Linked DNA regions of Homo sapiens: regions 1 and 3 are each linked to region 2. The links are contacts of gene promoters, found by promoter capture Hi-C in blood cells and fetal thymus (Javierre and others, 2016). All regions are on one chromosome and are shown on one strand. Each heading gives the region's core, a stretch centred on a gene start or on the middle of the fragment in contact. The rest is flanking DNA. Distances are from core to core; before and after follow the strand shown. Region 1 overlaps NCAPD2 (non-SMC condensin I complex subunit D2). Region 2 holds the start of COPS7A (COP9 signalosome subunit 7A). Region 3 overlaps EMG1 (EMG1 N1-specific pseudouridine methyltransferase).

What was found. Contacts are between HindIII fragments. The CHiCAGO score rates a contact against its expected background, and 5 or more counts as called.
Region 1: a contact is called between a fragment that was not itself captured here and the fragment with the promoter of COPS7A in region 2, in 1 of 17 cell types (activated CD4 T cells). The highest score is 5.5, in activated CD4 T cells.
Region 3: a fragment that was not itself captured here is called in contact with the fragment with the promoter of COPS7A in region 2 in 3 of 17 cell types (non-activated CD4 T cells, total B cells and activated CD4 T cells); the score reaches 9.2 in non-activated CD4 T cells.

The regions. Positions count from the first base shown.
Region 1 is chr12:6,527,152-6,531,305 of GRCh38, reverse strand. NCAPD2 (non-SMC condensin I complex subunit D2) reads right to left here. Exons shown (of 32, transcript NM_014865.4): 23 at 3,418-3,529; 24 at 3,215-3,338; 25 at 2,978-3,133; 26 at 2,450-2,627; 27 at 2,267-2,361; 28 at 1,713-1,793; 29 at 1,348-1,531; 30 at 489-615; 31 at 230-385. Among named protein-coding and RNA genes, the nearest start is that of GAPDH-DT, 5.2 kb to the left of the region's middle. The HindIII fragment of the contact is 2,203 bases long and covers 591-2,793 here.
Region 2 is chr12:6,722,563-6,726,748 of GRCh38, reverse strand. It overlaps COPS7A (COP9 signalosome subunit 7A), which reads right to left and starts at 2,703. Exons shown (of 8, transcript NM_001164094.2): 1 at 2,570-2,703; 2 at 1,931-2,135. The coding sequence starts at 2,092. RefSeq lists enhancers at 2,049-2,268, 2,399-2,538, 2,569-2,778. The HindIII fragment of the contact is 1,412 bases long and covers 2,606-4,017 here.
Region 3 is chr12:6,971,584-6,975,968 of GRCh38, reverse strand. It overlaps EMG1 (EMG1 N1-specific pseudouridine methyltransferase), which reads right to left. Exons shown (of 6, transcript NM_006331.8): 2 at 1,529-1,630; 3 at 1,276-1,417; 4 at 821-879; 5 at 591-740; 6 at 1-273. The coding sequence ends at 160. Among named protein-coding and RNA genes, the nearest start is that of EMG1, 2.9 kb to the right of the region's middle. The HindIII fragment of the contact is 838 bases long and covers 832-1,669 here.

The DNA.
Region 1 (4,154 bases), core at 443-2,942, 190 kb after region 2:
TAAGAAAAAGCTGAGTCACAAAGATGGTGAAAAAATAGATATCAGAGAACAAGTGAGACAATCCCACACCGCACAGAAGAAATAAAATCCAAGCTGTACAGGAGAGGCCCTTCTGCGGCAGTGGGGCAGAGCATCTACACTCAGGCCCCCGCAGCAGGTCCTATGGAAACCAGCCCTCTGCACCCTAGCTGTGTGCCTTCTCGGCCGGGAACAGGCGGGAGCATCATACCTTCCTCACTGGACTCATCACTTGAGAAGACAACTTTGGGTTTCTTTTTGGAAGCTCGCTGCTGGGTGTTTGGATGCCGACGGGTAGTACGGCGGGGCTCTGGTGTGACAAAGTCATTGTCTGAGGCTGTAGAAGCCAGAGGCTGGTACCTAGAACCTAGAAAAGGCAGGAAAACGTGATTTAAAAAAGAAGAAGAAACAAATCACTGCAGGAGGGGAGGGCCCAGTCTGGTCTCGCCCGCACAGGCTGCCTTACGTACCAGTGGATGGTTTCTTGGCTGATGGCGCTCTCTGGCTACCTGCTTGGCCAATCTCAAGCTCCTTGATTCCATCCAAACCTCTGGTATGACAGGCCCGAAGCTTCTGCTCAAATTCATCTATTATAGCCTGGAGGGAGAAAAGGAGATTCAGAGCAGGCCTGAAAACAGTTACTTCTGATTAAAAAGAAACAAGGCCATGGAAGACATGGAGGCCTTAAACGCACATTACTAAGAAGCCAAGGTGAGAAGGCTCCATACCGGATCATTCCAATGATACATTCTGGAAAAGACAAAGTGATGGCAACAGTAAAAAGATCAGGGGTTGTGGGGAGAGAGGGATAAATAGGTGGAGTGCAGGGGATTTGTAAGGCAGTGAAACTCTTCTGTATGATACTGCAATGGTGGGTACATGTCATTACGTGCAGTGAACTCCAAGGTAAACCATGACTTTAGGAGATGATGTGTAAGTGTAGGTTCAGCTGTAACAAATGTGCCACCCTGGTGCAGGATGTTGAAGGTGGGGAAGGCTGTGATGTGTAGGGGCAAGGGGTAGAAGGGAACTCCCTGTACTTTCTGCTCAATTTTGCTTTGAACCTAAAACTGCTCTGAAAAATAAAAACTATTAAAAACAAACAAACAAGAATTGGATGAGATGCTGCTTTGGTTGTGTTTTTGGAGTAATAAAAAAAGAACTGGAGACAAAGATCTGGTCTTAGGTCACTCTGGCAATTTGGTTGCAACCCAGCTGGGGATAAGGAGGACGGGAAGGTGACTGCAAGAGCCGTATGCTGCCCAGGGCCGGCAGATGTCTTAGCCAGCCCAGAACCCAACAGGCATTGAAGTGTCCTGTGCTGCTCACCTTGCCCTCAGGCTTGGCCCCACGTCGCAGCTTGCCTACAACTGACAAAAAAGCACTGAAGATGGACTCATCTGACAGTTTGTCTCCAAAACAGTCAAAATTGTCAAGCATCTTACGGAGGCCTCGCTCTGTGAGGGGCAGCTGTGACACACAGTAGGCCAGGTCTCGCTGCTGCCGCTCAGTTCTGCAGATAGGAAGGGCTTTGTGAGGAACTGGGAGATCCAGCTAGTAAAGGCTCAACCTTCCCCATCAGCCTCCCCAGTCCCAGGGATGCCACAGTGGGGGCATTGAAGGGGTGAGGGATGGGCCTTTCTCCCCTGCAGGGCCCCGCTCAGCACAAAGAACCCTCAGGGAGGGCAGCATACCGGGATGTGCGGAACCGCTGACACAGCTTTTCCACCAGGCTCTCTGTCTGCTTGTCCTTGGTGATGTAGGAGAGGAGCTGTCTGCAGGAAGGGGAGATGAGGATGTTCGATGGCCCAGGGCCAGCTCTGCCATCCACTAAGACCAACCCTGGACCCTCCCCCAGCACTCGTCTTCTCTGATGTTCTCTGCCACGGCCCCTGTCTGCCTCACCACTCCCCTTGCCCTGTCCCATTCAGCAGAGAGGGACCCCACCCCGCCCCCGGCTCAGGAATTTTCACTGTGAATGGAAATTAACAGGAGCAGCTGCTAGGGAGTGAGTGCTACTGTATGTCTGCCACCATGTTAGGAACTTTATCGTATTTAATATTTTCAAGAACTAAGGGTTAAGTATCATCAGCCTCAAAAGAAGAGGAAATAGGCACAAAGAGAGGCTAAGTTATTGCCGAAGGCTGTACAGCTAAAGAGTAGCCGAGGTGGAATTCAAATACAGGTGTGTCTGATTCCTAAGCCCGTGCTATGTGGAAAATGTGCCCCAGGGCCCGGGGAGCAATACTTCATGATGGTGTGGAAAGGCTCTTCCTCCACCCCCAGCTCGGGGTCTGACAGGCGGCTGATGATATCTGGAAGGAGATTATAGATTGCGTTGCCCTGTAAGACAGAGAGAGCCATGTTAAGGAGATGAGGTGACCTACAGATTCCCTCTGCAGCCAGCCCTCAGTGCCTCTCTGCCTCTCACCTTGTGGGAGAGCTCATTGAAGAAGTTCTTGGCCAGGGCAGCAATCTGAGGCTCGGGGTCGATGAGCAGCACCGCCATCTCGCTGACCTGCCCCTTCACCTTCACCATGTCCTTGAGGATCAGGTGGGTCATCACCAGCCCCGCTGTTTTCCGCACTTGCTGAGCAGGGTCCCGGAGACTAGGAATGGAATTGCGGGTCATGGGGACCGAGACCTCCGGGCTACACCCTAACACTGGTAGAAAAGGCCCTCAGCAGGAATCAATTATCCCATGCTCTGCCACTCCAGAAGCAGTCAGAAAGCTGTCTAGAGTTGAAAGCTGGAGTGGGGGAAAGAGGTGAAGCTTCTAACCAGAAGTGTCAGTCCCACTGGGGTGACTCTTAGCCAGGGGCCTGTACAGGTCAAGTATCAAGCAGATGTTCGCGGTGATGCCAAAGCCTAGGGGAAGAGCCCTGGTGATTCTCACACTGACTCTCAACAGACTCCGGGGCTCCTGGGAACTGCCACCACGTTGTGAGGGGTCTCTTACCGAGCATACAGATGAGGAGTCCAGGGGTCCACCAGATTGGGAAAGCGGATGGCCAGATCCCCAGTGGCAACCATGAGGTTAGACCGGACAATGGGAAGTGGAGACTTTTCCAGCATGGTGAACAGAAGACGAAGCTGGGAGTCGCAGAAAGTGGCACTAAGAGCAAGAAGAGGATCATTAGGGAAGCCATTTCATCCCCATCTTCCTTGAGAAGGGGGTACCAACCCCACGGCCTACCTGATCATGCAGAACTTGCCAAGGGCAAGTGAAGCAGCTGCAGAGAGGTCTGGGTTGCTATAGAGGCCTGGGTTGTTACAGACTTTAAGCAAGAGTGGAACAAAGGCAGCCAGTGTCTGTTTGCCTGTTGGAAGAGTAACTGCAGGTTTGGGACAGGTTATCTTAATTGGGAAGAAACTGCTGAGTGCAGCCATTTTTCTTACCATCCAACAGTTCCATCTCGCAGATGCCACGGATTAGTTCTGCCTCTGTGTCATCTGCTGTTGCCCCAACCAGCCCCAGCTCCTCCTCCATGGTGGTCTCAGAGCTCGTATTCTAAAGGGAATGAAATTGGGGATCATGGATAAGCAGAGACAACATTTTTGATTCCAGCCCATACTTTGTTTTGCATGAACAAAGTGAGGAAGGGCAAATTCTACAAAAACATTTAGAGAATTGTCAAATGTGTCTGTAAAGAGAAAGGATTCCTGAATTAAGCAGGGGAACAATGAGGTCCCCATTTGTTTTAAGTTGCCAAAGCGTGTTTCTGCACCTCTTCCTCATGGAAGACATCGTTTCCTATATATGGTAAACAGATGGATCACGCCAGACAATGGTTCAAAGTCACAGAGGTCAGACTTTTCTCCAGCGCTGCAAGGCTCTGTGTCTTATTTGTCTGCAAGACATCATTGCCTCTAGTGGAGGGAACACAGGGCCCCATCCGGGGCCAGGCCAGCAATGGAAGCTGATGGAAAAGGCCGGCGGGTACGTGCGTGTTCTAACAAACCCTGCCTCAGACACAAAGCCTCTGTTTTATGCTGAGGTCTCTAACTCCACACTCTGCATTTACCTAAATCTTTCCTTCCTGGGTGATCACTGACAGTTTCGTCATTGTTCACACGAACCTTTCCTACGGTAGTAGCCACAGAGAGGCAGAAACTCTTCGCTTCATGTAATAGCA
Region 2 (4,186 bases), core at 1,454-3,953:
CACACTGTCACCCAGGCTGGAGTGCAGTGGCGCGACCTCGGCTCACTGCAACCTCCGCCTCCCTTTTTTTTTTTTTTAAATTATACTTTAAGTTCTGGGATACATGAGCTTTTGTTTGTTTTATTTATTTATTTATTTTTTTTTTTGAGACAGAGTCTCACTCTGTTGCCCAGGCTGGAATGCAGTGGTGCAATCTCGGCTCACTGCAACCTCCTGCCTCCCAGGTTCAAGTGATTCTCCTGCCTCAGCCTCCCGAGTAGCTGGGATTACAGGCGCCTGCCACCGCGCCCGGCTAATTTTTGTATTTTTAGCAGAGACGGGGTTTTGCCATCTTGGCCAGGCTGGTCTTGAACTCCTGACCTCATGATCCACCCACCTCGGCCTCCCAAAGTGCTGAGAACAGGCATGAGAGGCATGAGCCACCATGACTGGCCCTGTTTTTCGTTTTTGTCTTGTTTTTTGAGATGGAGTCTCGCTCTGTCGCCCAGACTGGAATGCAGTGGCTCGAACTCAACTCACTGCAACCTCAGCCTCACCCTTCCAAGCAGCTGGGACTACAGGCGCCCGCCACCACACCCGGCTAATTTTTTGTATTTTTAGTAGAGACGGGGTTTCACCATGTTAGCCAGGATGGTCTCCATCTCCTGACCTCATGATCCGCCCACCTCAGCCTCCCAAAGTGCTGGGATTACAGGCATGAGCCACCGTGCCCAGCCCTGTTTGTATTTTTAACAGAGACAGGATTCTGCCATATCGGTTTCACCTCCTGCCCTCAGGTGATCCACCTGCCTTGGCCTTCCAAAGTGCTGGGATTACAGGCATGAGCCACCGCACCCAGCCAAGTGCTTCTTTTTCATCACTTTGATTGATACTCTTTAGTTCCACTGCAGATGAAAGCAGGGAAAAGTCAGCCAGTTTTCTCCATATCACAGAGTGATCCAAAAGGTTAAACCACAGGCCCCAAATAACTTAGCTCAGTTTACCCACATACCACTGTCAGCATGTCAGGACTCAGGCTGCCTCCTCTGATTGTAAATTAACTCTGCCACTTTTGTGTGAACGGTTCTCTCTGCTGTGTTCCTAGCAGTTTGCCATGTGTCTCTGGGAAAAAGACACGTTCTCCCTTAGCTAACTTGAATAGATTAGCATATGCTGCACATAGGGAAGAAAAGGGCATGCTAATTTAACATGTTCACTCTCCACTTGTACCAGACTTCACACTTTCCCATAATCTCACTTTATTCCCACAACAGAGAGGGGCAGTATTGTCTCCATTTTTAAAAGAGAAAGTTGGCTAGGTGCGGTGGCTCAAGCCTGTAATCCCAGCACCTTGGGAGGTCAAGGCGGGCGGATCACGAGGTCAGGAGATCGAGATCATCCTGGCTAACACAGTGAAATCCCATCTCTACTAAAAATACAAAAAAGTTAGCCGGGCATGGTGGCGGGCGCCTGTAGTCCCAGCTACTGAGGAGGCTGAGGCAGGAGAATGGCGTGAACCCAGGAGGCAGAGCTTGCACTCAGCTGAGATCACGCCACTGCACTCCAGCCTGGGTGACAGAGCAAGACTCCGTCTCAAAAAAAAAAAAAAAAAGAGAAAGCTGAAGCCCTAAAACAAAAGTGACCTGATCAAGGTGACATGAGAATTAACAGCTACTACACTGGTGGAGACCGGCTGGAAATCAGGTTTCCTATTCTGAATAGGATGCTCTTTTGCTTAAAATGAAAAATAGTGGGCTTTACAGATCCCTTATCTCCAAAGGAGAGCTGGTTTGCTTGTTCACTGGTTACTTCTGCAAGTTGGCATTTAATTATCACTGTTTTCTTGTTCAACTGAATGGTTATTGGATCACAAAATGAGCCCTGCCCACCCATTCTCAAATTCAAACCTTTGCCCACGCTTCTCTGAGGGCTATTCAAGCCAGCAACCCACCTCTCTAACATTGGGCATGTCCAGCAGTTCTCCAAACACGTAGACACCAGGGGCCTCCAGCACCTGATGGATGAGTGTGGCCAGCGCTGCCCCCTTGGCCGACTTGGCTAGGAGCAGAAATTGCTCCTGGTTCTGCCCTGTCACCTTCACTTCCGCACTCATCACTGCACTGAGTGTGGGGGACTTGGGCTCAGGATGTCCAGAGCTGCAAGGAAAGAGGATGTGAAGCTAGAGGTCCCCGATGGCTGGTCGGATGGGAAGCACAAGGCTGAGGGACTGGATTGTAAAGGCACTAAGTCGGTTCTGCGGTGAGGAATCAGACATGGAGCGGTCTAAAATTCTGATCTAGGAATCCTAAAGTCAGCCACTTCGCAAGGCTGCCACACCCACCCCCTCCCCTGGGCCTAACCCCAAGCCCCATCACGTGCACCCCATTGAACCCCAAGACACAGGATGCAAAGGAGAAATGGGTGTCGCATGGTGTCCACCCTGACGACGCTCCCTCAGCTCTCCATTGCTGCCCCGCACGCGCCCACAACCACGTGACCTCACCCCCATTGAAGCTTACACGTGGCTCCGCCCCCTCCCTTAAAGACACCGCCCAGCGACCGTGGGCTCCCGCCGACTGCTTCGTCGTACCCTGGGTCAGGCTCTGCGGGCCGCTACCTGGAAGCTTCGACCTCCAGCGCACCGGGCGGGGCCGCCGCTCCGTCACCTCCGGCAGCTGTTCCAAGCCTTTCCTGCCACCTCCCTGAAGAGTCGCTCTGGCCACTAAACTCTATGGCGGGCTTCCGGCCGTACTTCCGCTCTAAGGACGCAAATTTCGGCAGGACATGCCCCACCCCCGCGTTCCGACCGCTGAAGCTCCAGTGAGGGACGCAGGCATTCTACTCTTCGATTGGTCGCTGGGGGAAGAATGACGGGCGCCTTTTTAAATGCTTTATTTCAATAAAACTTTATTAGTGGAAGAGCGCCAGCTATTAACTACAGACGTCTCTGGTGGGTCCCTGGTCCCGGCCCATTCTGTGTCTGTTCTAAGCCGCTGGAGAGCTGGAGATCAGGACTGCACTGGGTACCTGAGGCAAGAGAAAAGCTGTAACGGAAGGAGTGAAGAAGAGGGAAAAAAACGGGATGAGGAAACAAGGGGCAGAGAGGAAGCAAACAAAAATCAATAATAGAAGTTTAGCAGCAGAGATCACCTAGGTGGTTCAACCACTCACTTTTTTGAAGAGCAGGAGAAAAGAAGCGAGAAAAATAAAAGAGAGAATAAAGCTAACATGTATTGAGTGCTTACTATTGGTCAGACATCTTTTAAAATTTTATTCCGTTGAATCCTCACAAATATTCCCCTGTGACTTCAGGACACCCTCTACCATGATTACTACATATGTATTAATACTTGTAGAATGATGCTTTCAGTACATGGACTCTTAATTTCTTGGGGAGGAAAAAACCCTATGTGGTTCTCATTTTACAGAAAAGGAAATTGAGGCTCATAAAAATCCAAGGATTTATCTGGAGCTTTTCAAACTCAAAACCATCTTTCTACTTCAATATGATACTTTAATAAAAACAAAAACAACTAACATTTCTATAGTGTTTTATATTTCACAACAGGCTTGCAGAAGGTCAAGTGAGGGTAAAGTTAATGACATCTTGGCCTTTGTGTTAAGCCATGAGCATTACTTAATTCATCTGATACAACGATCTAGTAATTGTTATCTCCACTTTCCAGATGGAAAAACTGAACTCAGGAAAATTAAGAAACTTGTAAGTAATGGAAAGACAAGAAAGTGAAAAAGAGAAAGATAAAGAGAAATAGGACTCGTAGTCTGTTAGGGCTAAAGGAACTGCAGATGCAGTTTATGGTCCGCATATTTTGGTTTGTGATAGAAAATAAGCAGAAACACAGAAAGGAAAGAGAAAGGAGGAAGAGGAGAAGAAGAAATGAATGGAAAAGGTGAAACAAAAGTGAGTAGAAGGAATCAAAGGCATAATAAAATATTCAGAGTTTGAAGGAAGCAAGGAATTAATGAGTCCAAACATTATTATTATTATTTTGCATCCACCCCTCCCCGCCCCAAGCTTATCTTTTTTTTTTTTTTTTAATTTGAGACGGAGTCTCGCTCTGTCGCCCAGGCTGGAGTGCAGTGGCGCGATCTCGGCTCACTGCAAGCTTCGCCTCCCGGGTTCACGCCATTCTCTGGCCTCAGCCTCCCGAATAGCTGGGACTACAGGCGCCCGCCACTACGCCCG
Region 3 (4,385 bases), core at 1-2,500, 250 kb before region 2:
ACAGTATTCATAGGATAAACAAATAGCAAATGTACAGCCTTGGCTTCCCCAAACTCCACAGTCTCAGTGCAGAAAGATCATCTTCCAGCAGTCAGCTCAGACCAGGGTCAAAGGATGTGACATCAACAGTTTCTGGTTTCAGAACAGGTTCTACTACTGTCAAATGACCCCCCATACTTCCTCAAAGGCTGTGGTAAGTTTTGCACAGGTGAGGGCAGCAGAAAGGGGGTAGTTACTGATGGACACCATCTTCTCTGTATACTCCACACTGACCTAAGAAAAGAACAGTTTTGTCAGCCAACTCTGTCACTCAGTAGCTGTTTCAGCCCTTCTTTAGGGCAGGAAAACTATGGCTGAGCTAGTATTTCAGCTGTGCTGTTGAATATCAAATCCCTACAAAGGATGAAGAAGGTCCTAACTGTGACTTCCAATTATGGCAGCAGCCCTCAAAGGATGTGCCCTGGGGCAGGGTGTGGAACTGTCATGTGTCTTCTAGCTCATTGTAAGCATTGTTAAAATGCCTACTGCTCTGGGAATTCTATACTAAGTTCAGCTCTACCAAGAATTTCAGGGTTGAGCCCAGACCTTACCTTGCCATGGGCAAAGGCCCCTACCACAAAAACAATAGGATCACTGCTGGGCACCAGCTCACGCACATCACTGACAACCGGGATGGAAAAAGAAGTGCCAACTTTCATACATCCAACTGGAAAGTGATCTGATACTGGATTCTTAATTACCTAAAGTAAAAAAGAGAGAAAAGTCAGCCCCAGAAACATTCCCAGAACCAGCCTTCAACTAACAGGTTTCAATACCTCACCTTCAAAAGCTTCTGGGGGCCATCAGCTGCTCGAACACTGAGCTTGTGTAAAAGTTGAACTAGAAGGGGGAAAAAAGAGTTCAGAGCTAGATGGAGACCACAGTCCTTCTGTCCAGTCATCGAACAAGGAAAACCCCATGGATAAGATGAGTTCCCTGTGTGCTTTATATCTAGACTGGACTCCTGAAATGTTAGGAACAAACAGTTGCCAAGCATATGGCTAGCTGTACAGTGATGGGTTCAGACTCCCTCTTTCACTCAGCCAGGAAGCTACTGCAAGAACAGGAGTGGAGTTTCCACAAACATAGAAAAATAATAACAGTCCTTGTCCTGGTATTAATCATGTTGTTCTCCCATTTTCTCGCTTAAAAATCCACATTTAGTTCTCCCTTTTCCTCTTCCTCCCTTCTTCCCTACTGACAAGTTCATTCTAACTTTGTTCTAAGGCTTCTTACCCATGAGGCCACAAAAGCGGTCAAAGGTTCTGGGAATTCGGGTCTGGGGATTCACTTCAATCAGAACATTCTTCTGTGTATGGATATAAACCTGTAGCAAGCCAGCTCGGTTCAGGGGACTATCCATCAGCATCAGCAAACTCTGAGCAAAGCAGAAACCGAGACATGGTTAAGGCTGAAGAGAGGCAGCACTCAGCTGCCAACCCTTCCATACAGAGGCTCAAAGGGTTGTGAGCACTGTCCCTGGAGTTACCTGGTGGGTGATATCTGGCCGCGCTTCCCCAGGGTCCCGTCCATTCTTCAACAATATAGACTTGTGCTTGTCACAGTTGAGTAGCTCATATGTCTTCCCTACCTGAAGAACAGGGAACATGACGAGAGAACAGCATAAGCTTCTGTTACCTAGCCCCGTGGTTCTTCAAGTGTGGTCCCCAAACTACCAGCAGCAGCTGCACCTGGAAACTTGTTAGGCAAATTCTCAGGCCCACCCTAGACCTACTAAACCAGGAACACTGGGGGTGGAGCCCAGCAAGCCCTTCGGGGGATTACTGTGCAGCCTTATTTGCACTCCCCAGTGAATGGTCTGAGAGGGAAACAGGAGGAAGGGCACAACCTGTGACTTCACATTATCTACTAATACACTGGATTTAATTAAAAAACCTGTGGCTGTTAGGCAAGGCCAATGAGACATCCTGGAACTAGGCAGGAGTTAGTAGTTAGCAAGGCTGAATGCTGTGTTTATTACAGGAGCAGTAAGTAGGTACTGTGCAAAATATCGAGTCACCACCCTCAGTTTGCGTACACCAAACATGCACTAAGTGAAGAGCTGCAAATCTGAACAAGAAATGTGAAGGCCGGGCGTGGTGGCTCACGCCTGTAATCCCAGCACTTTGGGAGGCCGAGGCGGGCAGATCACAAGGTCAGGAGATTGAGACCATCGTGGCTAACACGGTGAAACCCCATCTCTACTAAAAATATAAAAAATTAGCCGGGCATGGTGGCAGGCGCCTGTAGTCCCAGCTACTTGGGAGGCAGAGGCAGGAGAATGGCATGAACCCAGGAGGCGGAGCTTGCAGCGCCACTGCACTCCAGCCCGGGCAACAGAGCGAGACTCCATCTCAAAAAAAAGAAATGTGAAAACTAATGATGCAGGAGGCAGTTTAATCAAAGAAAACTCTCAGAAGTAAAAGGAAGAGGGGTTATTCCCAGTTTTAAGACGGGCATGGGGGCAGATGCAGTGGCTCACGGCTGTAATCCCAGCACTCTGGGAGGCCAAGGCAGGCAAATCACTTAAGGTCAGGAGTTCAAGACCAGCCTGGGCAACATGGCGAAACCCCATCTCTACTAAAAATACAAAAATTAGCTGGGCATGGTGGCACATGCCTGTAGTCCTAGCTACTTGGGAGGCTAAGGTGGGAGGATGGCTTGAGCCCAGGAGACAGAGATTGCAGTGAGCCAAGACTGTACCACTGCACTCCAGCAAGACCCTGTCTCAAAAAAAAGAAAAAAGAAAGACTGGCATGAGCAAAGGTACAGATGGAATCAAGACAAAGTAGCCAGGTGTGGTGGCTTATGCCTGTGATCCCAACACTTTAGGAGGCCGAGGTGGAAGGATCACTTGAGCCCAGGAATTTGAGACCGGCCTGGGCAACACGGTGGGACCCTGTCTCACAAAAAAAAAAAAAAAAATTAGCCAGGCGCAGTGCCATTTGCTGGCAGTCCCAGTTACTCAGGAGGATGAGGTGGGAGGACTGCTTGAGCCAGGGAAGTAGAGGCTGCAGTGAACCATCACACCACTGCACTCTGTTGCCCAGGCAACAGAGCAAGACCCTATCTCAAAAAAGAAACAAAAAAGAAAAAGTGGAAACGAAGAAAGGAAATTTTGAGGAAAATTGGGAGCTGAGACACTAAAGGGCAGTGATTATATATGAAGCTGCTTTGTAAACCACAGAATCCTAATGTATCAAGCACAAAGCCAAAAATAATTCTGGAGTAAGCAGGGCAGGATGGGAATGACTGACAGACACTATCCTAACAACTCTCTGTACACTGGAAAAGACATCAGAAGTTTGATGTTAAAGAAGTGGACTACATCTGTAGCAGCTAAAAGAAATAATTCCAAGTTGCAATTTGGAGTCCCAAGGAGCATTAGGGTGGTCAGTAAAAAGTCTAAAAACAAACTGTTATATACAAATACAAGTTTTGGAAGGTTAAGTTTTTATGTATCACTGGAATGTATATGTCTAGCAACATTCTTGAGATATATGGCTCCAAAAAGTCTGCGAAAAAAGGGATGTAGATTTTGAAATTGAATAGTTGAAGTAATGTCACAGAGAGCACAAAGAACAAATGACCAAGAACTAAGTCCATGAGACACCCTTAGTTATAGAAGAAAAAAACCTTCTTGAATGAATAATACAGTTTCAACCCATTAGTAGGATATAATCATGTTTTCTATTCTTTTAATAGATTACAGGCGCAGGCCTGTAATCCCAGCTACTCTGGAGGCTGAGGCAGGAGAATCGATTGAACCCGGGAGGCGGAGGCTGCAGTGAGCCAAGATCGTGCCACTGCACTCCAGCCTGGTAGAGACTGAGACTCCATCTCAAAAAAAAAAAAAAAAAAAAGTGTATTTAGAACGAAGATTAAAATCCTGGCCTGACTTCTAAACCAATGCGATTTCTTCTGGGCCTATTCAATTAGTTCTAACGGGTAAGAGAAAGGAGGAGGAAGAACACTGCCCAAGGCTTTAAGATAGAGAACTGCTGGTTCTATTACATGTGGGGAAAGAGATGAATGATAGATAAAAATGCAGATGTAAAAGTTTTAAATAATAACCAGGTCTGGACAGTGTATCATAGGTGGATATTAGAGAGAGGTGACTATGGATACTAATGAATTGAAACACGAAGCCCTTACAAAAAGTGTGGGCAGACTAGGCTACATAACTACGTTTCTCATCTGCCCAGTAACTTGTCTTGGGATGTGGAATGACGCAAGGAACGAAACTTTCCTCTGCTTAGACTACTATACCACAGAATCCTGGTAAACCAATTGGAAGCAAGGAGGTGAGGGCTAGAATATCATTCAAAAAGAGCAAAAGAAAATGA